7 separate regions of the Homo sapiens genome follow, and all the other regions are linked to region 1. The links are contacts of gene promoters, found by promoter capture Hi-C in blood cells and fetal thymus (Javierre and others, 2016). All regions are on one chromosome and are shown on one strand. The core of a region is centred on a gene start or on the middle of the fragment in contact, and the rest is flanking DNA. Distances in the headings are between cores, read along the strand shown.

Region 1 (4,065 bases), core at 1,114-3,613:
CTCTTTAGATAGATCCTTCGAACCCCTTCCCAACCCAACTCATGTTCTAAAGCTTGTTACGTGTTTTTTTCTTTCCAATTTGACAGACACTTTTGTTGTTGTTTTTGTTTGTTTTTTAACAGGGTCTCATTCTGTCACCCAGGCTGGAGTGCAGTGGCATGATCACTGAGCCTAGAACTCCTGTGCTCAGGCAATACTCCTGCTTCAGCCTCCTGAGGAGCTGAGACTACTGGCATGAGCCTCCATGCCCGCCATCCATTCTGACAGACAGTTCTACTTTCCTAGCAGGAGGCAGAACCCTGAGTAGGACAAATGGATGGCCAGACAAAGCAATCAAGATGGGTGGTGAGAGTGGCTCCATCTTTTTCCTTGCCCTGCAGGCCCCTAGGAGAGGGTTTCTCTGAGACCTGATGTTTCCCACTCCATACCTAACAATGGTGAGGAACTAGGGCCAGGCTTTGTGGATCCGGCACTTTTCTCTAGGCCACAGTTAGCTGCTTAGAGGTTGTGGGAGGAGAAGGATCCTGTTATGACCAATTCTGCAAATGGATTCCAATATGTCTTTACAGTCCCGGGGCCCTGGGAAAGTGTGTAAGTGTGTGTGTATGTATATGTGTGTGTGTGTGTTGGGGGTGGAGTTATTCTGGGTCATGCCACCTGGAAATCACTGCATCAATGAGACCTGGAGATCACTGCATCAATGAGACCTGGAGCAGCTCACTTCATTGTCCCCAGAAAGGCATCTTTGCCCAAGAAGAGAACCAAAATCATGGCTCAGGGAGAGATGGCCCCAAGTTATGCATCTTGAGTGTGTTTGCACAGGTGGAGGGGTGGGTAGGGTAGAAGGTTATTCAACAGTCCTGGTTCTCTGGATCTATCCAGGCCCTCGACCTTTATCCATGTGCTCACTGACTGCTCTGTTGGGGGCCTCTTTCTGCCTCCCAGCTGGCGGTGAGCTAAGAGGCTTCCGGTGTCAGGGAATGCTCCACCTCCGGTGTTCAAGGCCACTTTTTGTGCATGTGTGTGTACCTGTGTGCACGCTTTCCCAGAAGCAAGTCTCCTTCTTGTTGTTTTGGGAGCTTCATGTCCTGGAGCCAGGGCTTTGTGGCTAACGAGTGCTTTGAGAGGATGAAATTCCTGAGCTCTCGCTCGCTGACCCTCTGCCTTCCTTCCTTGGCCAACAGCCCATCCCAGGGAGCGGTGTGATTCTTACCACTGCCTTCACTCCTTGAAAGAACAAACATCTTCACTGCAGCCTCTGAGCGCTGGTGTGAGGTGATTGTTTGTAGTAGATGTTTCCATGACACTCATTTATTTCTTCTGCAAATACAACTGTATTGGGGGAGGGGAAGCAGACAGGCTAGGGTAGGGAGACTGGAACATACGAAGACCTTCCAGTTTCCTATTTACATTCCTCTGTAGGATGAGAAGCTCCTTCCCTTTCCCTGGGTCTCCTCCATCCCAGACTCCTAAAGCTTCCCCCAAACCCATCTTGGTTTCATGCGGCCGAGTCGGGGCTGGGCTCCGAGTAAGGTGGAGAGGGGAGGAACCATGTGCGTGAGGAAGCAGCCTTTATCAGGAGAAGTGGGAAAAAGACCCAACTTTGACTGCTTGGAGTCGGGATTCAGTAATGATGAGCAGCAGTGACCAGCACTGGGGGTGGAGTGTGTGTGCACGAGTGTTCCTGAGGGGTCTGTGGCACTTCGCAGCTGAGCCAATGACTCACTCTAAATCTTAGCGACTTTGAGAGGTCATTTTAGTCATCCCCCGGTCTGCATCACGTTTGGAGGGGGTGGTGCGCTGCTCTGGGGACGTGTCTGGGTGCGGAGGGAGACGGGGTGGGGAGGCGGCGCGTGACCTCTTTGAAAAGATCTCCGGCGAAGGACGTTCCCCGGCTCTCCCGGGCCGCCGGCTCCTGGGTTTCCCCATCATAGAATCAGCATGGTCCTCTCGGGAACTGCTTTTTGCCGGATGGAAACCGGATGTTGGGTTCCATGAGTGGGCGGGGGCTCCACTTCCCTCAGACCTGTCCGGGGTAATTGAGACCCGCCAGGGTCCCGTTAGAAGCTACCATTTCCCTCACCAGAAACTTGCCACGCAGTGTGAGCCGAGAGAGAAGCGGGCAGAGACGCTATACCACCTTCTCCCCGGCAATGCGCATGATTCTGCGGCTCTGTGCTCGCCACACTTCAACGCACCTTGAAATGGGCTCGCCTCCTTCGCGCCGCGACGGGCGGAAGGCTGAGCCAATCGGACCCCCGGCTTGCGGGCGGCGCCCAATAGGCGGGCGGCGGGGGCGGTTCCGGAGGCCCGGCCCGGCTAGGCTTCACCGTGGACCTGGCTGCGCTCCGCCCGGGCGAGTAGTGCAGGTGCCGCTGCGCCGGGGCCGGGGAGGCGCGCGCCGAGCCGAGCGGAGCCTAGGAGGGATGGAGAGCTGGCCACCCGGGCTGCAGGAGCACCGGCGCGGGGCGTAGGCGGCGCGAGGCGGGCGCGAGGCGGGCGCTCGGGCGCGAGGCGCGTGCGGGCGCGGGAGCACTTTGCGATAGGATGAGGCTCCGGGCTGGCGCGGTAGTACTATGATTTGGTATGTGGCCACTTTCATAGCAAGTGTGATCGGCACCCGAGGGCTTGCGGCTGAAGGTGAGTTGAAGTGCGGCGTCCCTCCCCTGCCCCTCCCGGCGCCCTCGGCCCCTCGCGCCCGGCCCCTCGGTTTCCCGGCTCCTTGGCCCCCCGGTTCCCCAGCTCCCCGGCGCGCCTTCCCGCGGGTGAGGCTTGGGCTCCGACGCGGGCCAGGCGGCCCGGGAGCATTGCCGGGGAGGGCCTGGGGGCCGTGGGCTGGAGGGGCGGGCGGGAAGGGGCCAGAGCCCACGGGCTGCCGGGCACTCGGGGAAAGGACGCAGTGGAACCTGGGTCGACTTCGCCCACCACGGGCCCCACGGTGCACACCGGCGCGCCTAGCCCGTCGCCTCCTGCCCGGCGGCCGCCTCCCAGAGCTGCGGGAAACTCTGGCTGCGGGAGTTTGCGGTCTCCGGGCAGGCTGCAGCACGCTAGAGCCCCGCGCCGCGAGGAGCGCCTGCAGGGAGGCGCGACCCGGAGGATCCCTGGGACTGGCGGCACCCGCGTCTAAGGCCCCGGGTTCGCGCGGCCCTGCGGGCGTCCATCGCTCCGCTCGCGCCCCTCCTGCCCACACATCTTGGCAGCTGGAGGTCGGATCCCCCTAGCAGGGGCGCCCGGTGAGAGGAGGATTGATGAGGCCAGCTTCGAGGTGTGTCCGCTTTTGGCTGGACCCCGCCGGCCCCCGCGCCTCTCAGCCGCACCTGGGCCCCGGCCAGGCAAAAGTTCCCCGGGAGCGCGCCGCAGCCGCGCGGGCCCCACGCCGCCCTCCCCAGGCTGCGAGGCAGAGCTGGCTGGGGGCGGCGGCGGGGGAGGGGAGGGGCGGGGAAGGGGGGGTCCCCACGCTGTGAATCCGAGCGGAGGGGGGATTTTCTCTTTCCGCTTTCCTGGGTCTGAGCTGGGGGAGACGCAAGGGGGGAGCCACCGAGTTGGGTGATGCGTGCGTGAGCGCGCGGGCTTTTGCTTTGGAGATGGGCAGAGCGACCTACAAGCCTCTGGGTGGCACCCCCGGCTCTCGGCCCTTGTATGGAAGTGGGAGCGGAGCCTGGAGGGTGCCAGGACTGTGAGCTCAGGGCTGTCAGCGCGCAGACACGACCCGGCTGCGGGCAAGTTCACCAAGCCGGAGGAGATGGCGGCGGGAGAGAACCCGCTGTGGGTGGGAGTCAGCAGGCAGGACTCGCCGACAGAGAACCCTCTCCCAGCGGCATGGGGCGCCGGGTGGGCTGGAGGCGCCTCTCACGGGGTCCCCTCGTCACTCGTCTGTGCAGGGGGGCGTGCTTCAGGAAACTTTCCGGAATGGAATGAATATGTCGCCTCTGCTTCTGAGGGGGGTGGTGGTGTCTGAAAACAGAACGAGCAGAGGGCGAAGCGAAGGGTGATTTTGTTAACTGACATGTTGGTCCGGACGGTTTTAAAACTCTTCATTTGTCAGGTGGGAACACTGAGGCAAGG
Region 2 (4,065 bases), core at 923-3,422, 390 kb before region 1:
ATGAAACCAAGAGTTGGTTATTTGAAAAGATCAACAAAACTGACAAACTGCAGCTAAACTAAGAAAAAAGATATGACTCAACTAAAATCAGAAACAACATGAGGCTATTACTGCTGATTTTACAGAAATAAAAACGATTACAGAAGAGGAATATGAACAAATTGTACGCCAACAAATTAAATATTAAATAACCTAGATGAAACACACAAATTCCTAGAAATATATAATATGCCAAAACTAAATCATGAAGAAATATAAAATCTGAACAGACCTATAACTAGTAAGGACACTGAATCAGTAACTAAAAACCTCCCAACAAAGAAAAGTCCAGGACCAGATGGCTTCACTGGTAAATTCTACCAAATATTTAAAGAAAAATTAACGCCAGTCTTCCTCAAACCCTTCCCAAAAATTGAAAGGGAAGGAACACTTCCTACCTTATTCTATAAGGTAGAATACAGTAATAAACTCTTTTCACTTTTCTTTGGGAATTTCTTAATTTTTCCCTCATTTTTGAGTTTTGCTGGATATAGAAGTGTCAAAAAAAGTTGACACTTTTTTCTTTTATTACAAACAAAAGACACTATGAGAAAAGAAAACACGGACTAACAGTCCTGATGAATACTGATGCCAAAACCCTCAACAACATGTTAGCCAACTTAATTCAGCAGCATATTAAAAGAATTATAAACCATGATCAAATGGGATTCATTCCTGTAATGCGAGGATGATTTGCCATGTGAAAAGCAATCAATGTAGGCCAGGCATGGTGGCTCATGCCTATAATCCCAGCACTTTGGGAGGCTGAGGCAGGTGGATCACCTGAGGTCAGAAGTTTGAGACCAGCCTGATCAACAGGGTAAAACCCCATCTCTACTGAAAATACAAAATTAGCTGGGCATGGTGGCAGGTGCTTGTAACCCCAGCTATTCAGGAGGCTGAGGCAGGAGAATCACTTGAACCTGGGAGGAGGAGGTTGCAGTGAGCTGAGATAGCGCCATTGCTCTCCAGCCTGAGCAACAAGAGGGAACCACCATCTCAAAAAAAAAAAAAAAAAGAAAGAAAAAGAATCAATCAATGTAATATACCGCATTAACAAAATTAAGAGGAAAAACCACATGATGATCCCAATTGATGCAGAAAAAAGTGATAAAATTCAACATTCTTTCATGATAAAAAACACTCAGTCAACTAGGAACAGAAGGAAACTACCTCAACATAGTAAAGGCCCCATACAGAAAGCCCACAGTCAACATCATATTCACTGGTGAAAGACTGAAAACTTTTCCTCTACGATCAGGAACAAACCAAGCATTCGTGCTTTCAGCACTTCTATTCAACACGGTACTGGAAGTCCTGCCAGAGCAATTAGTCAAGAAAAAAATAAAGGCAACCAAGTTGGAAAGGAAGAAGTTATCTCTGTTCACAGACAACATGATCTTAAATGCAGAAAACAGTGCACATCCCCACACCCCTAAAAAAAACTATCTAGCTAATAATTCAGTAAGCTTGCAGGATAAAAAAAATCAATGTGCAAAAATGCATTGTTTTTATCCACCATCAGGGGACAATTCCATTTACGACACCATCAAAAACAACAAAATACTTGGGAATACATTTAATCAAGGAGGTGAAATATTTGTACACTGATTGTACATTACAAACAAAATACTAAAAGAAAATAAAAGACAGTGGAGCAAGATGGAGGAATAGAAGGCTGCACCGTTCATCCGTCCTGCTGGAACACGAAATTTTAACAGTGATCTGCACGCAGAAAAGCACCATGACAAAAACCGAAACTCAAGTGACCCGTCACAGTACCTGGTTTTAACTTCATATCACCAAAAGACGCATTAAGGCAGGCAAGAGAGACAGCCTTACACCACCGATGCCACCCTCTCCCATCTCCCAGCGGCAGCCAAGTGGTGAGGAGAGAGGATCTGTGCATTTGGGGAAGGGAGAGCACAGTGACTGGGGAACTTTACATTGAACTCAGTGCTGCCTTGTCACAGCACAGGATAAAGCCATGCTGAGCTCAGCCAGCATCCACGTAGACGGAGCATTTGGACCAGCCCTAGCCAGAGAGGAACTGCCCACCCTAGTGATTGGAACTTGAGTTTCTTGGGAAGCCTCACCACCATGGGCTGAAGTGCTCTGGAGTCCTAGGTAAACATGAAAGGCAGTCTAGGACACAAAGACCGCAATTCCTATGCAACTCCTGGAGCTAGGATGAGCTTACAGCCAGTGTACTAGCACAGCGCATGGCCTAAGGAGCCACCAGCTGGCATGGCTAAGGGAGTTCTTGCACATCCCTCCCCCAAGCCCAGGTAGCGCAGCTCACAGCAACGAAAGTGGCTCCTTCCTTCTGCTTAAGGAGAGGAGAGCAAAGAGTAAAGAGGACTTTGTCTTGCATCTTGGATCCAGCTCAACCACAGTAGGAAAGGGCGCCGGCAGAGTCAAGAGGCCCTCGTTCCAGGCCCTAGCTTCCAGACACTTCTAGACATACCCTGAGCCAAAAGGGAACCTGCTGCCTTGAAGCGAAGGACCCAGTCCTGGCAGGTCCTGTTAAGGAATTGATCTCCAGAAAGTAAAAAGAATTCCTATAATCAACAACATAAAAACAAACAACTAGATTCAAAAATGAGCAGAAGACTTGAATAAACATTTCTTCCAAGATATGCAAAAGACCAATCAGCACATGAAAGATGCTCAACATCACCAGGGAAATGCAAATCAAAACCACCATGAGATACCACTTCACACCCACTGATGGCTCTCCCCAGATAAACAGGAAATAACAAGTGTTGGCAAGGATGTGGGGAAATTGCAAAGCTTGTGTATTGCTGGTGGGAATGTAATTTGGTGCAACTTCTGTGGAAAACGGTATGGCAATTCCTAAAAAAAACTGAATGTAGAATGACAAGTTGATCCAGCAATTTCACTTCTAGGTATATACCCAAAAGAAGCGAAAGCAGGGGCTCAGAAAGGTATTTGTACACCCATGCTCACAGCAGCTTTATTTACAGTGGCCAAAAGGCAGAAGCAACTCAAACGTTCGTCAATGGATGAAGGATAAACAAACGTGTTATATACATGCAATGGAACATAATTCAGTCTTAAAAAGGAAGGAAATTCTGACACAGGCTATGACACAGATGAACCTTGAGGGCGCTGTTAAGTGAAATAATCCAGTCACAATACTATGTGATTTCACTTATATTTGGTAGCTAAAATGATCAAATGCATGGAGACAGAGAGTAGAATGGCTGTCAGGAGCTGAGAGAGGGAAGAATGGAGGGTTTAACGGCACAGAGTTTACATTGGGGAAGACAGAAAAGGACTGGAGATAGACAGTGGTTGCAATAGACTGTGTTCTCCCAAAATTTACATGTTGAAATCCTAACCCCCACTGTGACGGTATTCAGAGGTGGGACTTTTGGGTGGTGATTAGTTATGAGCATAGAGTCCTTGCCAACAGGGCTAGTGCTCTTATAAGAGGGACCTCAGGGAGCTCTCTGACGCTCTCTGCCATGTAAGGTTGCATCAAGAAGATGGCCGTATATGCCCTGGAAGGGGGCCCTTCCAGACACCGAATCTGCCAGTGCTTTGTTCTTGGACTTCCCACTCTCCAAAACTGGGAGAAATGAATTTCTTTGTCTGTAAGCCACTCAGTCTAGGTGTTTGGTTGTGGCAGCCTGAACTAAGGCTGTGGAGATGAGCACACAACAGTGTGGGTGGACTCAATGCCGCTGAGCTGTACATTTCAAAATGGTTAAAATGGCAAAGTTTATGTTATGTATACTATCCCATAGTCACAAAAATTAAATAACTATGTGATTATTTAAATATGTTAAATAATAATAATTATGTTATCGTTTATTTCAAAAAGATGCATTGGTGACCCGCTGCACGTCTGCAAGTGCCTCTGAGCCTGCTCCCAGGACGGCCATCCTGCTGCCCACCCGACTCCTACAACCTGCTGATCCCCAGCTTCCCAGCAAGATCTAGGCTAATGACTTCCTAGTTCCTTGCTTCTGTCATGGTTAAGGCTGCCGGATTTAGTAA
Region 3 (4,065 bases), core at 1-2,500, 380 kb before region 1:
AAATCCGTCCTTCTCCCAAACAATATCATGACGTCCCCACTATCTCAGAAACAAGAATCCAGTCTTGACAAGGTGTAAACATAGAGTTTGTCAGTGTGTTCTTCTGGCCACAAAGGACTTCCAGATATTTATCTCCATCAAAAACTTCCCTGTCTCCCAGGGGAAGTGCAGAGAAACTAAGAACTTAGTTTCTCTAAGTAAAAAAGAAGCAAATGACAAAGCCGAGCGGCGTAGGGCCTGCCACCACTTCCAACCGTTCAGTTCATTCGATACTGCCGGTCGGCTTCCCACTGGAGGTTTTGAATATGGAAAGTGCTGACCTGAAAGATAGGGTCAGGGCTGTAGAATCCTTAAAATAAGCACAGTTTAGAAAAATGCTGGGCTAGGGCACCCAGAAAACTTTTTCACAGGCTGTGGGTAAATCACAGTATCACTGAAGCCACTCCTTTGCCATAAACAACATTTGGAAAAGGGGGAGAGGAAAGGGTGAGCTGGTAACAGGTGAATGGTGGGAAAGTGGAGAGAGACGACCTATCAGTCCTACTGTGCAAATAAATCATGGCCCGGGATCTTGGAGGCCCACGGACACTGTTCTTACGACCCTGCCAGGCCAGCTGGCTAGACCATACCTGCCAGGCTGAAGCGCCGGCCTCTGCGGAATAAGGCGCCTCCCAGAGGCTTGGGAGGAAAAGGGGGGCCTGGGGGAAGGGCAGAGGGAGCTCTCCGCGGAGCAGTGGGGACGGGGCCGCGATGGGGTGCGTCTGAGAGGGCTCTGACGGCTGGAGGGCTGCGGGCGTCCACGGGGGGCAGAGCCCGGCGTCACAGGCGCGGCGGGGTGGGCGGCTCGGGGCACAGACGCCGGCTCCCGAGGGCACGCCGGGTGTCGCCCAGAGGCCTGGATCGCGCGGCAGGAGTAGAGTGCCTGCAGCCGCAGGGGAACTCGGGGGTATTGGGGAGCTCCCAGAAAGAAGCAGCTGGGGCTGCTCCCCCCGGGAACTCGGGATTCGCGGGTCGCGGGAGGAGAGAACCCGAGGTGCGGAGGGCTGGGGAATGTGGGGTCCGGCAGGTGCTGCGCGAAGCTCTCTCTCACCTGCGGAGCACCAGGAAGCCCAAGACGACCAGCAGCAGGAGTCCCAGCGTGCGGGCCGGCCTCCGCCGGAGGCTCCACGTGGTCATCGCGTGTTCTCTAAGCGCGGGGACCCGGGTTCCCACTCCAGTCCGCACTCAGCCGCGCGCGGGAGCCTCGCCGCGGGGGGCGGAGCCGCGCACTGGTCGCCTGGGCAACCGGCCCGCCGGCGCTCATTGGCTGGGGCTCGCGGCTCCGCGCCTGCAGCCCTAGGCCTCGCGCAAGCGGGGGCGGGGCTGGCCGGGGCCGGGGCGGGGCCTCTGTCGGGGGGGGGGCGGGGCGGGGCTGGTGGGCGGGGACGAGGTCTCGGTAGGAGAGGGGGCTGGCGGGGGCGGGGCTGGCGGGGCGGGGCCCCGGCCGGGGGCGGGGCGGGGACAAGGTCTCGGTAGGGGACGGGTCTGGCCGGGGCGGGTCCCCAGTGTCGTGGAGCGGTGCAGAGTCCGCCGTCTTTCTGCTCGCGAGGCGCAGGCGGGTGCGGGAATGCTGCGTACCTGTCAAACGCCGAGGTAAAGTCGCCCCTCGCAGCGCTACATCAGGAAGAACGTACAAAAGGCGTCCGCAAAGCAGGGGCAACCAACAGAATCTTTTAAAACAATTCAGATTCTGAAGCAAACAACTTTTTCAATAACAAATCATCCTGTGAAAAGCCAGGATTTTGAAGAATTGTATCTGGACACATTTCAGTGTGGTTCATGTCTGAGGAGGGGGGGTTCCAAATATTTTCTGTCTTTGGTTTCTGCGAGTCTTACTCTGGCCTTGACTCCAAGGGCTTCCAATTTTTTATTTTAAAAAGGTCCATATAAAACTCTCACATTTTAGGAAAGGAAGAATATCATTCTTATTCTGAAACAGAATGTATGTCCCAAAGAACATGATGTAGTATTTCGGTGCAACTTACACTGTAGCAATCACAAACCCAACTCCTCCCGGGAACAAAATTCAGATTTTACTGAAAGAAACTCGAGGAAGGGCAACGTTTTCCAGAGCATCCGGGTTTGTCGAATGTCTCCCTTGCCGCATGCTTTGAATTCATTTCCTAAACGGGGGCATAGTTTTGAACTTGTAAAGCCGACAGGAACCAAATGAAATTGCAGATCTTGGAACAAAGACACAGACTTGGGTATGAAGTGTCCTTTGTCTAGCGTTAAGCACATATTTAGTCAAGGAGCAAAAGTTAAATCAAAGAGAGGCAAAAACAAACGAACAAACAAGAGGAAAAAAACCCTGGCAGAACTGGGGAGGATAAGCTGGGCTTGGAGCAATCCGGGTCTGACTTAAGCACCGCAAACATTCCCAGAGGCGCGCAGAGGGAGGCCCACTCCCGTGGACGCGCTCCAAGCCCGCTCCTTTTCTCCATTGGGTAAGGCTATGATTGCTTGATGGCTATGAAGTCTGTGATGGAAACATGTTGGTTTAATTGGAATATACCAGCTAGCCCCGAAGCGTGTGGAGAAATTGTCAAAGGCTAGCCCCTTTGCCTGCAGGGGACCATCCGAAAGACATGCACCCCACATTCATCCTCTCACTTCTGGTCACGTTGAACAGTGGCAGAATCTATCAAATATAAGGGAATTCTCAAATGGTTTAAGCAATACAAGCATCTCCATTTTTCTTCAAACGTTAGCAAAAACTTAACATGGGTTGTGAAAACCGTGAACTCCTTGGCCCACCCTTGTATCCTTCGTTTTTATTTGTGCGAGAAAAATATACATAACTGAGTGTTTTCAAAAAAATTTCCCCTTAACCTTGTGGGATGTTCAGAACTAGGGACACACCCTGCTCACAGTCTAGGAACAATTTTACTTTATCTGGGCTTAATGATACCACAGAATGCTACAAAGTTAGCACTAACCCGAGATGCGTCTTGCTCATAGGCTGAGACTTTTTTTTTTTTTTTTGAGACAGAGTCTCACTCTGTTACCCAGGCTGGAGTGCAGTGGTGCAATCTCAGCTCACTGCAATGCCTCCCGGGATGCAAGCTATTCTCCTGCCTCAGTCTCCCGAATAGGTGGGACTGCAGGCACCCACCACCTTCCCCGGCTAATTTTTGTATTTTTAGTAGAGACGGGGTTTCACCATGTTGCCCAGGCAGATCTCAAACTCTTGACCTCAGGTGATCCACCTGCCTCGGCCTCCCAAAGGGCTGGGATTACAGGCGTGAGTCACCATTTCCAGCCTGAGACTTTTGTTTTTTAAAACATTAGGCCGGGTGCGGTGGCTCAAGCCTGAATCCCAGCACTTTGGGAGGCCGAGGGGGGCAGATCACGAGGTCAGGAGATCGAGACCATCCTGGCTAACACGGTGAAACCCCATCTCTACTAAAAATACAAAAATTAGCCGGGCGTAGTGGCGGGCGCCTGTAGTCCCAGCTACTCAAGAGGCTGAGGCAGGAGAATGGCGTGAACCCAGGAGGCAGAGCTTGCAGTGAGCCGAGATCGTGCCACTGCACTCCAGCTTGGGCGACAGAGCGAGACTCCGTCTCAAAAAAAAAAAAAAAAAAAAATTAGCAAGATACTCCTTCAGTGTCTCCTTTCCAAAATGTTTAGTGATCTTAACCCAAAGCAGACAGTGAAAATACTCAAATCCCTGGGAACAAAAGCTACAGTTACAATGAGCTGGCATAAGAGTGGGGTAAAAAAGTGGTCTGCCAAGGTGCTTGGCTTGGTAATGAATCCCTGGTACACAGGAATCATCCTCTTCCCAGGCCTTCTTTCTAGTGTCCAGGGTTTAGAAAATACAAGAAATGCTTTTTAAAAAAGTTAAATCTTGTTGGTGTGCCATTTCCATTGCTCTAAGTCAGAGCTCCAACAGACCCAGAGGGCACAGTTCCTTCCTTGAAAATTCCTGTATCACAGATAATCAGCGGGAAACCGAAACACATACAAAATGCACACACAGGAGAATAAAAACCACACTCGCTCAAAATCAGTACAGTGAAG
Region 4 (4,065 bases), core at 911-3,410, 340 kb before region 1:
TAAATGTTCATAATAAAACATACAGATAAAATGTGAAGGCTAATTACCCACCTCAAGAAATTAGAACAGCAAAATAAACCAAAAATAGTAAAATAAATAAAGGAAATATAAACCTAAGGGTAGAAGCAGTGAAATTGAAATTAATTTGCAATAGAGACAACTTAAAAAAAAATCGGTTCTTTGAAAAGAACCAACATGCTTCTGATGAGAATGTTAAGACAGAGTAAAAACGAATCAATAATTAAGATCAGAAATGAAAAGGAAAGACCAGCACAAATGATACGGCCATTAAAAACAAGAAGATAGTGTGCATAATTATATGCCATTATATTTTAGTTTGAGTGAAATGGACATATTCCTAGAAAAACTGTAACAACTACATTTACTCAGAAGGAAACAGACTTCTGAGTACAGCTCAGAGATATAGCAGTGGGAAAAACATAAATCCCATCCTCACAGCGAGGACAAAACTTGAAAAACTGTAAATTCATGGCTTCTTGGGTCCATCAGAGAACCTAGGTCACAGAGCAACCAAATACCTAAAATCCATGGAAAACCTGATGCCTGCAGGAAGAAGCTGGACCCAAGCCACTTGCTTACCTGGGGCTAGATCCTCTAATATAACACAAATAGATCATATTAAAGAAGTGCTGAAGACAGTGTGGGCCAGCGTGAGAGTCTGAAGTCAAGGGAGCCGAGACGGATGGCGGCTGACACCCTGATGCTGGCTTTAACTCCCCAAGTCTACCAGCTGTTCTGAGGGGAGATTCGGGAGAATCCCGGGCAAGTCTCTGTTGCAGGCTGAATTGCGTCCCCCAGCCAAATTCACACGAAGGCCTAACCCTCAGTACTGCAGAATGTGACTGTACTTGGAGACAGAGCCTTTAAAGAGGTAATTAGGTAAAAGTGAGGCTGTTAGTGTGGGTCTTAATCCCATGTCACCGGGGTCCTCATAAGAAGAGGAAATTTTGACACACCAGGGTCTCGTGTTCACGGCAGAAAGACCATGCGAGGGCACGTTAAGAAGGTGACCATCTGCAAGATAAGGAGAGGCCTCAGAGGAGAACAGCCTGTAGGCGCCTTGATTAAAATGTGGTCAATAGGGGCCGGGCGCGGTGGCTCACGCCTGTAATCCCAGCACTTTGGGAGGCTGAGGCAGGCGGATCATGAGGTCAGGAGATAGAGACCATCCTGGCTAACACGGTGAAACCCCGTCTCTACTAAAAATACAAAAAAAATTAGCCTGGCGTGGTGGAGGGCGCCTGTAGTCCCAGCTACTCGGGAGGCTGAGGCAGGAGAATGGTGTGAACCCAGGAGGTGGAGCTTGCAGTGAGCCGAGTTCACACCACTGCACTCTAGCCTGGGCGACAGAGCAAGACTATGTCTCAAAAAAAAAAAAAAAAAAATGTGGTCAATAGGATGGGCCCTAATCCAATATGTCTGGTGTCCTTATAAGAAGAGGAGATTAGGACACAGACACACACAGAGAAGAGATCATGTGAGGGCACAGGGAGGAGAAGACAGCCGTCCAATAAGCCAGGGAGAGAGGCCTCAGAAGAAACCTACCCTGCCAGCACCTTGATTTCAGACATGTAGTCTCCAGAATGTGGGAAAATAAACATCTGCTGTTTAAGCCACACAGTCTATGGTCCTTTGCTATGGCAACCCTAACAAAGTAACACAGCTTCCTTTCTGGTGCTGGCTGAGGGGAGAGAGCCACCGCCACTGCCAGACCTTCTCCCAGCCCATCTTCTCTAGGGAACAAAAGCCCCAATCAGCTGAGAAACAGCACAGAAGCTGTCACTTAAGGACATCTTAACTGGATAAAATCCATTGCATCTGGGAAAGGGGCAGGGGATGCACTATCCTTGGGAAAGGAGGAACACATGCTAGGATCAGATCTGCCGCTAGAAGAAGAGCTGGGTAGGAGCACCTGCAAAGGCCACACCCCTCAGACCCACAGACAGCATCTGCTGGCAATAAGGCATAATCAGAACATCAGGGGAAGCCTTTCTCCCTCACCAGCAGGCTAACCAAGCTGGAGAAAAAGTAACACATACTATAGCTGAGAGATCCGCAAGCAACAGATTCTCTGTGGGACTCAATGCAAAGGCGAGACTCAGAGGGGAATGCAGACACAGAGAAAACAACCTCTGCCAAACCAGCACTTGCCCTTGACACAAGGTACCACCAGAAACATTTGAAGCCCATGATGCACAAAGGATAACACAGCAACAACAAACCCCACAACCAGCCTAACTCCAGACGAGGGGAACACAAAATCCCACATGGCCTAGCAGAATGAAAGGCAGGCTGATCTCCAAGACAGTATCTATGTCCTATGCATGATGCGCAGTTTTCAATAAAAAATTATGAGACATACAAAAAGGCAAGAAAAGAACACACTTGGAAGAGATAAAGCAATCATCAGAAACAGATAAGACACAGATGTTGTAACTATCTCACAAGGAATTCAAAATAACTATGATTAATATACTTAAGACTATCATGGAAAAGGAAGACAGCATGCAAGATCAGATAGATAATTTTGGCTGAAAGATGAAAACTAAGAAAGAAGCAAATGGAAATACTAGAAATCAAAAACATAGCAAGAGAAACGAAAAATTTCTTCAATAGGCTCATCGCTAAACTCAACAGGCATGAGGAATGAATCAACGAACTTAAAGATAAGTCAGTAGAAATTAAGCAAACTGAAAAGTAAAGAGAAAAAAAGACAGTGGGAAAGAAAACAGCATCCAAGAGTTGTGAGACCACACTAAGTGGTCTAATGTACGTGCGATTTGAATTGCAGAAGGTGAGAGAGCAGAGAAAATATCTAATAAGTGACAGCTCAGAATTCTACAAAATTAATGACCTAATCTTGCATTCCTGGGATGAATCTCACTAGGATGTAATTGTATTAGTCCATTTTCACGCTGCAGATAAAGACATACCTGAGACTGGGAAGAAAAAGAGGTTTAATTGGACTTACAGTTCCACATAGCTGGGGAGGCCTCAGAATCATGGCAGAAGGGGAAAGGCACTTATCACATGCCAGCAGCAAGAGAAAATGAAAAAGAAGTAAAAGTGGAAACCCCTGATAAACCCATCAGATCTCGTGAGACTTATTCACTATCATGAGAATAGCACGGGAAAGACTGGCCCTTATGATTCAATTACTTCCCACCGGGTCTGTCCCACAACACATGGGAATTCTAGGAGACACAATTCAAGTTGAGATTTGGGTGGAGACACAGCCAAACCATATCAGTAATGTATTATCATTTTACATATTGCTGGATTCAATTTGCTCATCCTTTGTTGAGAATTTTTGCTTCCATGTTCATAAGGGAAATTGGTCTTTGGTTTTCTTTGCTTTAGTTGTTTTTATTTGGTTTTGGAATTAGGACAATGCTGACCTCATAAAATGAGTTTAGAAGTATTCTCTCCTTTTCCATTTTCTGGAACATATCGTGTAGAATTATTATTATTTCTTACTTAATGTTTGGTAAATTTCACCAAACCACAGATCCAAGAATCTCCTGGAACACCAAGCAGGATAAATTTTAAGAAACAAACCACATCTAGGCATATTACACTCAAACTTCTGAAAACTAAAGACAAACAGAAAATTCTAAAGGTAGCCAGAGGATAAAAGACAAAAAAAAAAGATAAGAATTAATACTGACTTCTCATCAGAAACCATGGAAGTAGAAACAATAATGAAGAGACATCTTTAGAGTGGGGAATTAAGAAGACACTATTGTACAATCCTAGTACTACCTACACTTCAGTATGATTAGTCGTGTCAGGTTAATTTTTAAATTATATATATATATTTTTTTCTCTCTTTCTTTCTTTTTTTTTTTTTTTTTTTTGAGACAGAGTCTCCCTCTGTCACCCAGGCTGGAGTGCAATGGCACGACCTTGGCTCACTGCTACCTCCACCTCCTGGGTTCAAGCGATTCTCCTGCCTCAGCCTCCCAAGTAACTGGGATTACAGGCACCCACCACCATGCCCAGCTAATTTTTGTATTTTAATAGAGATGGGGTGTCACCATGTTG
Region 5 (4,065 bases), core at 1,097-3,596, 330 kb before region 1:
TGGTCTCACTATGTTGCTCAGGCTGGTCTTGTACTCCTGGGCTCAAGCAGTCCTCCCACTTTGGCCTCCCAAAGTGCTGGGATTACAGCCGTGAGCCACCATGCCAGGCCATAATCTAGATTTTTATCCCATCTCGAGCTGCATCAAGAGACGTGTCCTTGAACTATTTTTACTTAATATCCAAGTGCATCTTCTCTTTTGGAAGAGTTATGTTGTTTAAATTTAAAAAAATTACAATGATCAAACAATGCTGTCTTGTAGACCGCACAGTACAATGTTCTTTTTTTGTCACAGACCTGACTGTGTGCTCTAGGTTGCCATGGTAAAAATGAAGGCGTTTCTTATCAAGTGCATGAGGTCTGGGTACACCATAAAAAAGGCAATGCTGTTGGGCGCAGTGGCTCACACCTTTAATCCCAGCACTTTGGGAGGCAGAGGTGGTGGGATCACGAGGTCAGGAGATCAAGACCATCCTGGCTAACACAGTGAAACCCCATCTCTACTAAAAATACAAAAAGTTAGCCGGGCATGGTGGTGGGCACCTGTAGTCCCAGCTACTTGGGAGGCTGAGGCAGGAGAATGGCGTGAACCCAGGAGGTGGAGGTTGCAGTGAGCCAAGATCAAGCCACTGCACTCCAGCCTGGGCAACAGAGTAAGACTCTGTCTCAAAAAAAAAAAAAAAAAAAAAAGGCAATGCATGGCACCTGTGTTCTTCCCATCTGTAGGAGTAAATCAAACTAGAATGCAGGGCAATAGCAGGTAGACTTACACAGACACGGAATGGGGGGTGCAAGTTATTTTTTTACAACATAAATGGAAAATCCAAATGTCCATGAATAGGATATGAATTCCCGAGTTTTGTTTTTTTGTTTCGTTTTGTTTTTTGAGACAGAGTGTCACTCTGTTGCCCAGGCTGGAGTGTGGCGGCATGATCTTGTCTCACTGTAATCTCTGCCTCCCAGGTTCAAGTGATTCTCTTGTCTCAGCCAGCTGAGTAGCTGGGGTTACAGGCATGTGCCACCATGCCCAGCTAATTTTTTTGTATTTTTAGTAGAGATGGAGTTTCCCATGTTGGTCAGGCTGATCTCGAACTCCTGACCTCAGGTGACCCCCCTGCCTCGGCCTCCCAAAATGCTGGGATTATAGGCATGAGTCACCAAGCCTGGACTGAATACCTGTTAAATGAATTATGATACATCCCTACTAGGGAACAGTGTGCAGGCACTAAAAAGAGTGGCTGGTTTCAAATCTACGTATTTCAAGTAACAAAAGAAAAATGCCTGAGAGGCATAGACACGTGTGTATAATTTGCTTCTGTGCTGATAAAATCTCTAAAAAGAGACACAAAATCTAGTAAAATTGGTTGTCTCCTGAAAGGGCAACTAAATGGCTTTGGGACAGGGTGGAAGGTGAGATTTTTATCTGACCAAAAATTCATTTGTACCTTCTGAGTCTTTTTGCCATGTCAAAAGTGGAAAGAAGCAATGGGAAGATTGGCAAGCTTGAGGAATAGTAAGTTCATGTGGACAACCAGTCCCTGCCTTGTGTGATGAGTCTTTCTAGCAACCCTGGGGAAGCTTACCCGGACAACAAGGACAGGACAGGTCAGTGCTTCTGTCCTCAAGCCAAGGGTCCAGAACTCAAGGTTACAAGAAAGTCAACTCAATTGTTCATGGAGACTGCATGTGGCCTCTTCAGTGATCAAGCCAGAACAAACTCTTTCCCTAAAGGGCACGTAAGAAAGATGCAGGGGACAATTTGGCTTTACCTGGAGAGGAATCACTCTGGGAATCAGGTGGTCAAAATACTTCTCAACTGCTTCAATGAAGCTCTTGTTGGTTGTCCTCAACAGTAACCGGGGGTCTTGCAGGAGCCAGCTGGGGGCAAGAGGGGCGGGCTCAGGGTCTGAGACGGGTTGGGAGAGGGAAGCAGGAGTGGGCTCAGAGCTGCCCCGGCTCGCCGCACATCTGCCCAGCTGCCTCACACCCCCGGTCCCGGAGCACTCGGGTCCTGGAAAGATCTGTGCCGCGTGAGACTTTCAGACCATTCTCACAGACTTGTGGGATTTGAAAGGAAACGGCCGCCTCCACCTCCAAGGCACTTCACAACTTCGGAAAGGCCTTCAGCTCTATTTGGTCTGACTGAGGGGCTGGCCTGTCAAGGCTCTTACAGCCATGTCTTAAAGAGCTTTTTCTTCTACCTTTTGGTGAACACTCTCTATTCTTTTTCAGTTTATTGAAAACATTTTTTGGTCAGGCGCGGTGATTCATGCCTATAATCCCAGCACTTTGGGAGGCCGAGGTGGGCAGATCACCTGAGGTCAGGAGTTCGAGACCAGCCTGGCCAACGTGGCGAAACTCCCGTCTCCACTAAAAGTACAGAAATTAGCCGGGTGTGGTGGCGGGCGCCTGTAATCCCAGCTACTCAGGAGGCTGAGGCAGGAGAATCGCTTGAACCCGGGAGGCAGAGGTTGCAGCAAGCCGAGATCGCGCCACTGGACTCCAGCCTGGGTGACGAGAGCAAGACTCCGTCTTAAAAAAAAAAAATTCTTGGGGACAGAAAAAATTTCCTTAGGCACAGTGTCACATTTCCACTAAGGGCTAAGGCTTCAGGCTCAGGGCAGGAGCCTACGTGCCAATGATACTCCACCCACTCCAGGTCACTGGGGAAGTGCCAGGCAGGCCTCCAGCCAAGCTATGCCGGGAGTCACTGCTTCCCGAAAACTCCACTCCCCTCAGCTCAGGCTTTCTCTGCCCCTGGAGAAAAGCAAAGACCTCTCTCTTCATCCTGGAGAAAAGCAAAGGCCTCATCTGACTCTGAGGTGCAGAGGTGCTCACTGGAGGCAGAGCCCCAGATTCCCCAGGAAGCCCTGCCCACCACAGGGGTGGCAGAGAGGAGTCTTGGAGTCTCACCCTGACCCTCAGCAGTCTGGGCTGGGGGCCAGAATCACAGAGGAGAGAACAAGGCAAAGAAAAGCAAGAGGGAAGGGAGGGGAGCTGAGGGTGGTCTCACTGCATGGAAAGGCAAGCCTTCCCCTCACAAAATAAGCGAAAGATCAGAAGTTTTCAAAACAAGCCGAGTCGTCAGAACCTTCCCTTGCAGGCCTTAAAGCTTCTGGTCCCTTTCTTCCCAGGGCATTTTGAGAAGGACAGAGGAGGCTACAGCCCCTCCTGCATGGGGAAAGAAGAGTGGGAGCCTCTTGTGGCCACCTCTCCCCGCGCACACCCTCTTGACCGCATGCCCAAGGCCCCAGGACCAACGTCTGGAGCTTCTCATCTGTGAATCGGGGATGACAACTGCACCCCGCCCCCCGCCACCGCAGTACCGCAGGCTTCCCACAAGACAACACAGGCACGGTGCGTGGCGTGGGGCAGCACACCTCCCATCGGCTCCGTGAATAAAGGTTACTTTCCTTGTTACTAGCTTGAAATTCACTTTTTTTAAAGCAAATACTTCACTAGAACCACGACTCTGGGACTGTAGCCCCGCTTACCTGGGCAAGCCCCCGAGGTCCATCTCACTGCAGATGTAGCGGCCTGGACGCAGAATCACCCACAGCCCGATCTCTGCGGCCATCAGGACGAAGGCCCTAGGGAGGTCCACATCGTCAGCCCCTCCCACGACGGCCCAGGATGAGGCCGGGTGGGGGCCACACGCATCACAGGGTGGAGGAGCTGCCTGGTGGGGCGAAGGGACGGCTCGGCCCCACCCCCAAAGCGTGGGGACTCCCACACCAGGTCGGTGGCCTGAGCTGCTCCCAGCCTCAGAGCCTCTGCACAGCCCCATCGGGGGCCTGAGGAGGAAGGGTGACACCCAGGGCTCAGTGGTCTCAACAGTGAACCTGACCCCATAGCCTTGCTAGCCTAGAGGGGCCGCCCTGCCCCAGCCCAGGCGCCAGACCCCATGCAGAGTCGGGCGGCTCCCAGGGTCTTCTGCCCCTCTGGGCTGCAGTGGAGAGGTGGGGCCCGGAGGCTGCAGGCCCAGTCCCTCTGGGTGACAGGTCACGGTTGGGGAGCGTCTGGGTCCTGGGTGCAGGGCCTCTCACAGTCCTAGAACAGGACTCCA
Region 6 (4,065 bases), core at 750-3,249, 300 kb before region 1:
GTGATACAGTGATGAGTGCCCCAATTCTTCTGTAAGTGGGTGATGGTGTGGCCTACAATAAATGTTTTCCTGCTTATTATTGCAGGGTGGAGAGAGAGTTAGAATGAAGGCGAAGTTTCCTACGCACATAAAGCTCAGTGAGAAAGCAATTCCAAGAGTAATGGAAGGAAAACGACTCTCGGGAATTCAGTTTGAACACTGGCGACTGAGCCCATAAACATCTTTCTGGAATGAGGTTTGCAGAAGAAAGCAGCGGTCTAACCTGTGGTAGCCTGTGACTCTGACATTAACACCAGAGCGGTGGGTCTCAAAGTGTGGTTCTCAGACAAGCTGTGGCAGCCTCACTTGAAGACTTGTTGCAGATACAAATTCCCAGGCCCACACTAGACCCTCTGGAGCAGAAGCTCTGGGGTTGAGGCCCGCAATCTGCGCTCCCATGCCCTCCAGGCGATTCCAGCACAGGCTGAGGTTTGAGAAGGGTGCTGTGAAAGGGGCAGGGAAGCCCCATTATATAATGTTTCCAGCAAGGCAGCCTCACGTTGCTTCACCGAAGTCACTCAAAGAAGCCTCTGCCCCTCCTGCTTTTCCAAGAGTCGTGTCATTTCAAGACTTCCGCACTGGCTGTAGAGAGTGGAGACAGCCAGGCTCCGAGCCCGACCCCAACGGCTTCCATGTTTCCTCGATAGAATGTCTGTGACTACCAAGAAGATACCCATATAGTGATGGTTTATTTTATTGAAAAATACACTAGTAATATTGAGACAGGTATCTTTTAGGCCATCTGGCTGATAATCAATATAGAGCTACTGATGACCATACTGGCTCACATTTGCCTTGTCCATCACTGTTCTTGGATCCCTGAGAACCACGTACTCGATAACCTTAGAGAAAAGCCCCGGCTGTGGTTTTCAACATGCTTTCTCATCCATTATCTCAGTTCACCCTTCTCGCAGATCTCCAGAGGAAAAGGGCAGCAGCAGAGCGATCTGAGGCCCCCCGAAAGGGACGAAGCTGCGGCTCTGGACTCCAGGCCCCTGCCAGAACAGCTCTGCGGAACGGGAGGGAGGAGGAAGCCTCGAGACAGACAGGGCTTGACTGCACCCTGAGGCCCAGGAGGCATGGGGACAGAGAGTGGGGAAAGCAGCGATCCCGCCCCCGTTCTGAAGGGAAGAGAATAACCTCTGGCAATTTTTACCTTCTAGAATCTGGTGGACCCTGGAGTCCCGCACGTACTGCTGAACAGCGTAATCCTTCAGGTAGCCGTAGCCCCCGTGCATCTGCAAGGCCTGGTTGCAGATCTGCAGGGAGACAGGGACTAGACGTCTTGGACTCTGGGAAGACTGTGGAGCAAGCAGCTTCCCTTCCTACCCCAGCCCACGATCTGGCAGCCCGCCATAAACCCATGAAAGAACCACAAACAGCCAAGCTCAAAGAGGGCCTCCACATTCTGTATGGTTAGAGACAAGGGAAGTTCACCTACTAAACTTGTCAGTTCCCCCCAGACAGGCGACTCAAAGCCCTCTGCCCCTCTCCCTTATTACCTGCCAGGCAGAAGCTGCCCACAGCCACCCTGGCTGGGATGATAAAAAGCTATGGTTCCCCCTAGTGGCAATGCAGCCTGACAATGTAAACATGGCAGAGTGCTAAATTGGGGCTGCTGTGAACCTTCCAAAGGTGGTTTCTCGCCTAGAACACAACCAAACAACAGTGACATAATGAAGTGTATAATGGCATGCAGCAGGCCTAAAAGCCAGCGATGAGAGCTCCCACATAGGCCGCTCATGAGTTCATTTATATCCTTAAGCTTAAGGTGATCCTTGTGGGATTCCAGGAGGGCTGGGTTCCAAATCTGACTCATGTCTCTCAAGACCCCTGGGCCTAGCAGCTGTTCCCTGTCCATCCCAGGAGAGCCAGAGGAATCACTTACGGCAAAGCATTCATCTGTAGCAAAGAGCTTGGCCATGGAGCACAAGGCCACTGCATCCTTCCTCTCCTCCTGCAGAGCCACTGCTGCATTGCGGACCATCAGCCGCGCGGCCACCAGCCTTGTTGCCATATCAGCCAGTGTGAATTGCAAGTACTGCAGCACAGGGAGCAGAGAACCAGACAAGACTGAGGGGCTTAGACCAGCACCTGGTGCAGGAGCCTCGGTAAGACATCTCGGAGGCGCCTTTTCTAAGTGATCCAAAGCTTCAAAGTCTCTTGCTTTTTCTATAGAGGAAATTTATTGCTTTTAAGTGCTAAGTCCACTTCACTCACCCGACACTTTAATATCGTTAAAGATATCCCAAGAAAAGATGGACAGAAATAAAGCACAAGCTCTGGCTAGGACAGTGGTGGGACTGACAGAGGAATTTCCTGGCTTCTCTCCTGGAAATGTGGGCCCTAGAGCAGGTCCCGGGCTGCAAATAGTGCAAAGCCATGTGGAGGCAAGGCAGAGGTTACCTGGTTACTGGCCAGAGGCTCTCCAAACTGCTTCCGGACATTGAGGTGGTCTCGGGTGAGGATGACAGAGGCGTGGGCAGCCCCCAGGGAGCAGGAAGCTAGAGGGGAAGAGCGCCGACGTTCCAACCAAGCTGGAAAACAGCAGTGCCTGTCCCGGACCGCTACCTCCCTGCCACACCCCTGCGTATCTCACCAATATTGATCCTCCCTCCGTTCAGTCCTCTCACGGCAATGAGGAAGCCCTGCCCCTCGCTCCCAATTCTGTTGGCCACAGGGACAGCACAGTCTTCGAAGATCACAGCTCGTGTTGGCTGGGAGTTCCACCCCACCTGGCAAAAATCAGGGACTGCGTGGTTGCCCAACAATCCAGCAGGTAGGGCGGCCTTCCCTGGGGACGGGAGCCTGTGAGGTATGGGTTTCAGCACCCAAGACTTAGACCCACAAGAACTTAAAATGAGGAAAAAGAAAAAGTTCAGGTTTAAAGGCCTGTCAGCACTCAGAAAGATACCTGTTTCAGCTAAACATTTTCTAACTTATTAAGAGAATCTACTAATGTCTACTCTACCTGACTAACCTACAAACACTTCTCACAACTTCTTTTAGGATTGTGACACCAACTGCCCCCAATTTCAGTGCCTCTAATTGAAAACCACAAACTATCTACAATCTCCCAGTTCCTCTCTGGCTCTGAAAATAGACTGCCTTTACATCATTTCCTTGCTCTCTTTTGTTGATAGGATAAACTCCATTTCTAAGCCTTTTACTGAAGGTCTTCCTGCCCAGGAGTTAGCATGGGCTTCACACACAGTAGAAGCCTAGGAAATGGTTGCTGTGTTACCAAAGAGAAGGGGATGCTAAAATGCATAATGCCTTACAGTTACAGAGGATCAGGAAGGATCCTGTAGGAAAATACAGAAACCCGAGGAGCTGTGAGAAAGAGGTACACTTAGGGGTCATTTCATTACCTGCCTTCTCTCACAAAGTCCCCCCATAACAGTACAAACTAGAGAGAGATGACTGCTTTGAGCATCTGGTCTAAAAAATCTGAATGGGTCTTGAGCCCTTATTACCAATTACGGTTACATGATCACAAGTCTCCTGTTCATGCCCTGGCCATGGCGGCTCTTAATCCTAGAAGTATCTTACTTTTCAAATTACTTACAGTACCTAAGTGTCCTTCTTGGGTTGCTGAAATACCCACAATCATCTCCAATGAGTTTTACTTTATTTTTAATCAAAGAAGCAAAAGGGACCACACGCCTTCCATTACTGAGACTTGTGGCCAACACCAGGTCTTCTCTAAGCGTCTCTTCCTGGAGCAACAAAGTGCACCAACGTAAGCAGCTGGATAAGGAACACAGGCCAAAAGCAGAGGCAGGAGAGGTCAGAACACTCACAGGTGGCTTGAAGAATTTACTGGCAAACATTGTCACTTTCCCCAGAGGCCTAGTGTTTAATAATGCCCTGTTGTATTTCATATGCTCCTGTTGAAAATCCTAATAGAAGCAACTGCTTCAAAGGTAGGTTAGCAAGTATGCAAACCTGTTTTCTGAAATAGAGCAGGAGTTGGGCTGGCAGGTGGCAGAGTCTCATAACCTGAATTGTTTCCTGTCCAACAGC
Region 7 (4,065 bases), core at 941-3,440, 280 kb before region 1:
ATTCTAGGGAGTTCAAAGACCCTTCCCCCAAATCCCTCTAGGGAGCCCATGCCCCCGGGTCAAGAATCCTGCTGTAAGGGAAAGTGATTTCTCTGCCTTGTACCCCAATCACATGTTATTCTTGGGCCTTTCACGGCCCTTACCACTACTGACCATGTATTTGTGTACAGGTTTTATTTCATCAGCTAACTCCTGGCTTTTGGGGCAAAGGAGTCCGTCTCGTAGTTTTATCTTTGCATGTTTGTTCACCGAACAATATTCAATCAATAAACCTTTTTAAAGTGTCCCAATAAACCTTTCTTAAGTTAAAAGAGGGGACTAGGAAAGAGAGAAATTAAGTCAGCTATTCATTCCACAAACATTTACTGAGCTAAGCACTGGGCTAAGCACAGGATGAATAAGATACAGTCTCATGGGAAGCTCACAGTTCACCGGGGGAGATGGGCAAATAGAGAAATGGGAACACACGGAAAGGGCTAATTGAGATGCTGCGATCCAGTGCTGTGTGGAGGGAGAAAAGGGCATTCCAGGAGAGCAAACCTTATATGCCACAGGGGCAGACAGGACCTGGTCTGTTGAATAACAAGTCTCTGGCTGAACCTAGGATCCCTGGGGAGGACGCTGCTGTGGAGGGGATGAGAGAGAAGACAGAGACACAGCCCTGAAGGGTTTAACAAGCTGCCCTCTGTGGCCCGCCAGTGCAGCACTGTCATCCCCGGCACTTAGCACTGTGCTAACACTCAATGAGGAGGAGCTCTTTAATTGTATTTCCTTCTCCATAAAACATTATTTTAATATAATCTAATGTAATATAATAAATTGTATTTTCTTTTAAATAAAACTTAGATAATCCCCACCATCTGTCAAGCATTACCAGATGAAGTTATAAAGATATGGCCAGGCGCGGTGGTTCACGCCTGTAATCCCAGCACTTTGGGAGGCAGAGGCGGGCGGATCACGAGGTCAGGAGATCGAGACCATCCTGGCTAACACAGTGAAACCCCGTCTCTACTAAAAATACAAAAAATTAGCCGGGCGTGGTGGCGGGCGCCTGTAGTCCCAGCTACTCGGGAGGCTGAGGCAGGAGAATGGCGTGAACCCAGGAGGCGGAGCTTGCGGTGAGCCGAGATCAAGCCACTGCACTCCAGCCTGGGCAACAGAGCGAGACTCCGTCTAAAAAATAAAATCAAATAAAAATAAATAAATAAATACATAAAGATATGCTAGCCATACCAACTACACATTTCGGCTACTATCCTCTGTGTGGCACTGGCTGCTTCTTGGGGATCCTTTCGGTTCACCTCAGTAACCATCACACTGCCCAAGACACCTGTCCCTAGCCCTCTTCTAACTGCTCAGCCTCCCAAGTCTCCCCACCCCGCTGTCTGGGAAGACACTGACTTTTACTCCACTAAGAAGATGAAGGCCTTCCCAGTCAAGACTTACAATGTGCTCCTTCCTCTGCTTTGTTCCTTACTTAAGGCCTAAACATGTCTCTGCATTTTCACCCATCCTGTCTCCAACAGCACCTCTCCCTCTCAAGACCTCTCCTCCCCACTCCGGCCCAAGAACTCTCCATATGGATGCACAATGAAATCACCAGGAGAGGAGAGCCCTTAAGAATCCTGCTGCCTGGGCACACCTGATATGTGATTGTCTGGAAAGGGACACAGGCATTCGCATTTTAAAAAGCTTCCCACATGATTCTAATGTGGAAGCCTTGGTCCGGCATCTGGATCCTTCTACATATTCTGATTTCCCCAAGATCATCAATCTCCCTCTAGCTAAAGGCCTTTTCCTCTGAGCTTATTAAAAAATTGGTTTCCAAAGTCACCAATCCCAAGAACCCTCTCCAGGCCTTACCCTCTTGACCTACCATACTTTCTTTTCCTTTCTTCAGAGACAACTGTCACAAGGCGGGTTCTGCACCAACAGCTGAGGCTTCTCCACGAACCACTCCTCCCAACCCCTTGCTTCTGTCTCCACCACCCAACAGAAACCGCTCGCCTCGAGGTCAGTAACCCATGGCCTCCCAGCTGCCAAATCCAGCAGCCCTTGATTCTGCGTCCCGTGAAACACTTCTTCCTTGAAACACTCTTCCCGCGGTTCCACAGAGGCGCTGCCCTGATTCACCCCCCTCTCCTCCTCCTGCCATGCCCTGGTGGGTCCTGGCTCTCCTCTCCTTGTGCTCCCTTTCTTCAAAAACGTATCAGTTATGACCTCTGAGCAGATCAGTCCTGACTGCACATTTCTAAGTGTCCCCTCTGTCCTTAGTGCCAGGTCTGCGCTTCCAATTGTCTGCTAAACTTTTATGCTTTCTCTATTTTGCCAGTATTTCAGCCTGCCCTCTAGAGCTGGATGAATCACCTTATCTCCAGATCATTTCTTCCTCCTGATAGCCCTCTGTCTCCATCTCCACGGCTGCATGCCTGCACTCACTGGTAATCTCTGCTGGTGTCTGTTACATTCCTCACTTTCTCTTTGTTCCCATTACAGCCACCAAAATCATACTCGGAGGACCTCACAATAGCCTTCTGATAGTTTTGTCTCTACACTCTTCCCATCCACCAAATGCTACATATGGACTCCAATCTTCCAAAATAACCTTTTCTCTGCCTAAAGACAAAAGAAAAGTCCACAATAATCTTTTCATGTTTTCCCTCTGCCTGTGTAATAAGAAAAAGCTTTTAATCTGGAAGTTACATCTTTAAACTGTCCTCAACTAATTTTCCTATCTCTACCTCCTCTCTTTCGCAACATGAATCCTAAAGTCTTCATGTGATTTGGACATTAACACTTTTCTTTTATTGTGGCAAAATACGTATAACATAAAATTTACCACTTTAACAATTTTTAATTATACAGTTCAGTGGCATTAATGATATTCGTATTGTGCAAACATCACCATCAGTCTCCAGAACTTTTCCACCTTCCGCCACTGAAACTCTACTCATTAAACACCAACCCCCATTTCCTCCTTCCCTCAGCCCTGGGCCTCTACCATTCTATTTTCTGTCTCTATGAATTTGACTGCTCTGGGTACCTCATATATATGGAATCAGACAGTATTTGTCCTTTTGTGACAGGCTTCTTTCACGTAGCACAATGTCCTTTAGGTTCACCCATGTTGTAGCATAGGACAGAATGTCCTTCCTTTTGAAGGCTGTATAACAGTCCACTGTACGGACAAAACACATTTCCTGTGTCCATTTACCCACTGATGGACACTTGGGTTGCTTCTACCTTTTGGTTATTGCGAATAATGCTGCTGTGAATATGGGTGTACAGATATCCGTTCGAGATCCTGTTTTCCATTCTTTTGGATCCGCTTCTGGATCCAAAAGAGGAATTGCTAGATCATATGGTAATTCTGTTTAATTTTTTGAGGCACTGCTATACTGGTTTCAACACCTTTCTTTCTGCCGTACAAACGCTTAAGACAAATCCACTGCAAAAGAAAAAAAAATTAAATAATAAATCCCTCGGTCAAACTGAAGTGATGACTAGATGATCCTCGCGGTTGCTGCATTCTCTGGGTGCGATTATGAGACACTGTCTTTACTGGGTGTAATGTCAGTCTTAGACCTCTCTGCAAAGATTTGTTTTTTTTCTTTTAAAAAAATTAAAAAAATTTTTTTTTTTCGTAGAGATAGGGTCTCAATATGTTGCCCAGGCTGGTGTCGAATTCCTGGCCAAGGTGCCAGGATCACAGGCGTGAACCACCACCTCTGCAAAGATTTAAAAAGAGCCTTCACTCTTCTGATGGAAGAAGGGAGGACAGAGAAAGAAAAGAAGTTAAAGGTCTTGTGGTGTGTACCATCCTAAACTCAGGTCCTCAGGTGAGGAGATAAACCGATCTTATGAGATGGTATCAAGACCTGGAATCAGGTGTTCAGAGTCACAGGGGAGACTGCTTTATCCCAGTAGCATCACATAACCTCAAGTTTACACCTAACAGTCTATATCTGCTGTAGATTTTTTTTCACCCAAAAGACCTTGGCATCAGTCTCTATTCTCAGAGTTTCCAACACTATAACAGTAAAAACAATCCATGTACCTATGTGT

What was found. The method cuts DNA at HindIII sites, captures the fragments that hold promoters and counts their contacts. A CHiCAGO score of 5 or more calls a contact.
Region 2: a contact is called between a fragment that was not itself captured here and the fragment with the promoter of IGSF9B in region 1, in 4 of 17 cell types (total CD8 T cells, total CD4 T cells, non-activated CD4 T cells and 1 more). The highest score is 10.3, in total CD8 T cells.
Region 3: the fragment with the promoter of GLB1L2 here is called in contact with the fragment with the promoter of IGSF9B in region 1 in 7 of 17 cell types (activated CD4 T cells, naive CD4 T cells, total CD4 T cells and 4 more); the score reaches 14.2 in activated CD4 T cells.
Region 4: a contact is called between a fragment that was not itself captured here and the fragment with the promoter of IGSF9B in region 1, in 4 of 17 cell types (activated CD4 T cells, naive CD8 T cells, naive CD4 T cells and 1 more). The highest score is 6.8, in activated CD4 T cells.
Region 5: a fragment that was not itself captured here is called in contact with the fragment with the promoter of IGSF9B in region 1 in 7 of 17 cell types (non-activated CD4 T cells, activated CD4 T cells, naive CD4 T cells and 4 more); the score reaches 9.7 in non-activated CD4 T cells.
Region 6: a fragment that was not itself captured here is called in contact with the fragment with the promoter of IGSF9B in region 1 in 7 of 17 cell types (naive CD4 T cells, total CD8 T cells, activated CD4 T cells and 4 more); the score reaches 8.5 in naive CD4 T cells.
Region 7: a contact is called between a fragment that was not itself captured here and the fragment with the promoter of IGSF9B in region 1, in 7 of 17 cell types (naive CD4 T cells, activated CD4 T cells, naive CD8 T cells and 4 more). The highest score is 15.7, in naive CD4 T cells.

The regions. Positions count from the first base shown.
Region 1 is chr11:133,955,266-133,959,330 of GRCh38, reverse strand. It overlaps IGSF9B (immunoglobulin superfamily member 9B), which reads left to right and starts at 2,363. Exons shown (of 20, transcript NM_001277285.4): 1 at 2,363-2,640. The coding sequence starts at 2,577. RefSeq lists a silencer at 2,185-2,534. The HindIII fragment of the contact is 2,603 bases long and covers 1,478-4,065 here.
Region 2 is chr11:134,348,338-134,352,402 of GRCh38, reverse strand. The region is part of intron 5 of GLB1L2 (galactosidase beta 1 like 2); the gene reads right to left. Among named protein-coding and RNA genes, the nearest start is that of GLB1L2, 18 kb to the right of the region's middle. RefSeq lists a silencer at 2,716-2,775. The HindIII fragment of the contact is 1,324 bases long and covers 1,511-2,834 here.
Region 3 is chr11:134,329,173-134,333,237 of GRCh38, reverse strand. It overlaps GLB1L2 (galactosidase beta 1 like 2), which reads right to left and starts at 1,250. Exons shown (of 19, transcript NM_001370461.1): 1 at 1,091-1,250. The coding sequence starts at 1,176. RefSeq lists a silencer at 1,101-1,400. The HindIII fragment of the contact is 5,891 bases long and covers 1-4,065 here.
Region 4 is chr11:134,297,673-134,301,737 of GRCh38, reverse strand. The region is part of intron 9 of GLB1L3 (galactosidase beta 1 like 3); the gene reads right to left. Among named protein-coding and RNA genes, the nearest start is that of GLB1L3, 23 kb to the right of the region's middle. The HindIII fragment of the contact is 4,912 bases long and covers 1-4,065 here.
Region 5 is chr11:134,281,549-134,285,613 of GRCh38, reverse strand. GLB1L3 (galactosidase beta 1 like 3) reads right to left here. Exons shown (of 20, transcript NM_001080407.3): 5 at 3,494-3,589; 6 at 1,769-1,877. Among named protein-coding and RNA genes, the nearest start is that of GLB1L3, 7.2 kb to the right of the region's middle. The HindIII fragment of the contact is 1,534 bases long and covers 1,580-3,113 here.
Region 6 is chr11:134,259,753-134,263,817 of GRCh38, reverse strand. ACAD8 (acyl-CoA dehydrogenase family member 8) reads right to left here. Exons shown (of 11, transcript NM_014384.3): 7 at 2,639-2,774; 8 at 2,446-2,543; 9 at 1,928-2,080; 10 at 1,196-1,298. Among named protein-coding and RNA genes, the nearest start is that of ACAD8, 8.2 kb to the right of the region's middle. RefSeq lists silencers at 1,636-1,685, 3,188-3,237. The HindIII fragment of the contact is 386 bases long and covers 1,807-2,192 here.
Region 7 is chr11:134,235,725-134,239,789 of GRCh38, reverse strand. All of the region lies in intron 2 of VPS26B (VPS26 retromer complex component B), which reads right to left. Among named protein-coding and RNA genes, the nearest start is that of VPS26B, 13 kb to the right of the region's middle. The HindIII fragment of the contact is 992 bases long and covers 1,695-2,686 here.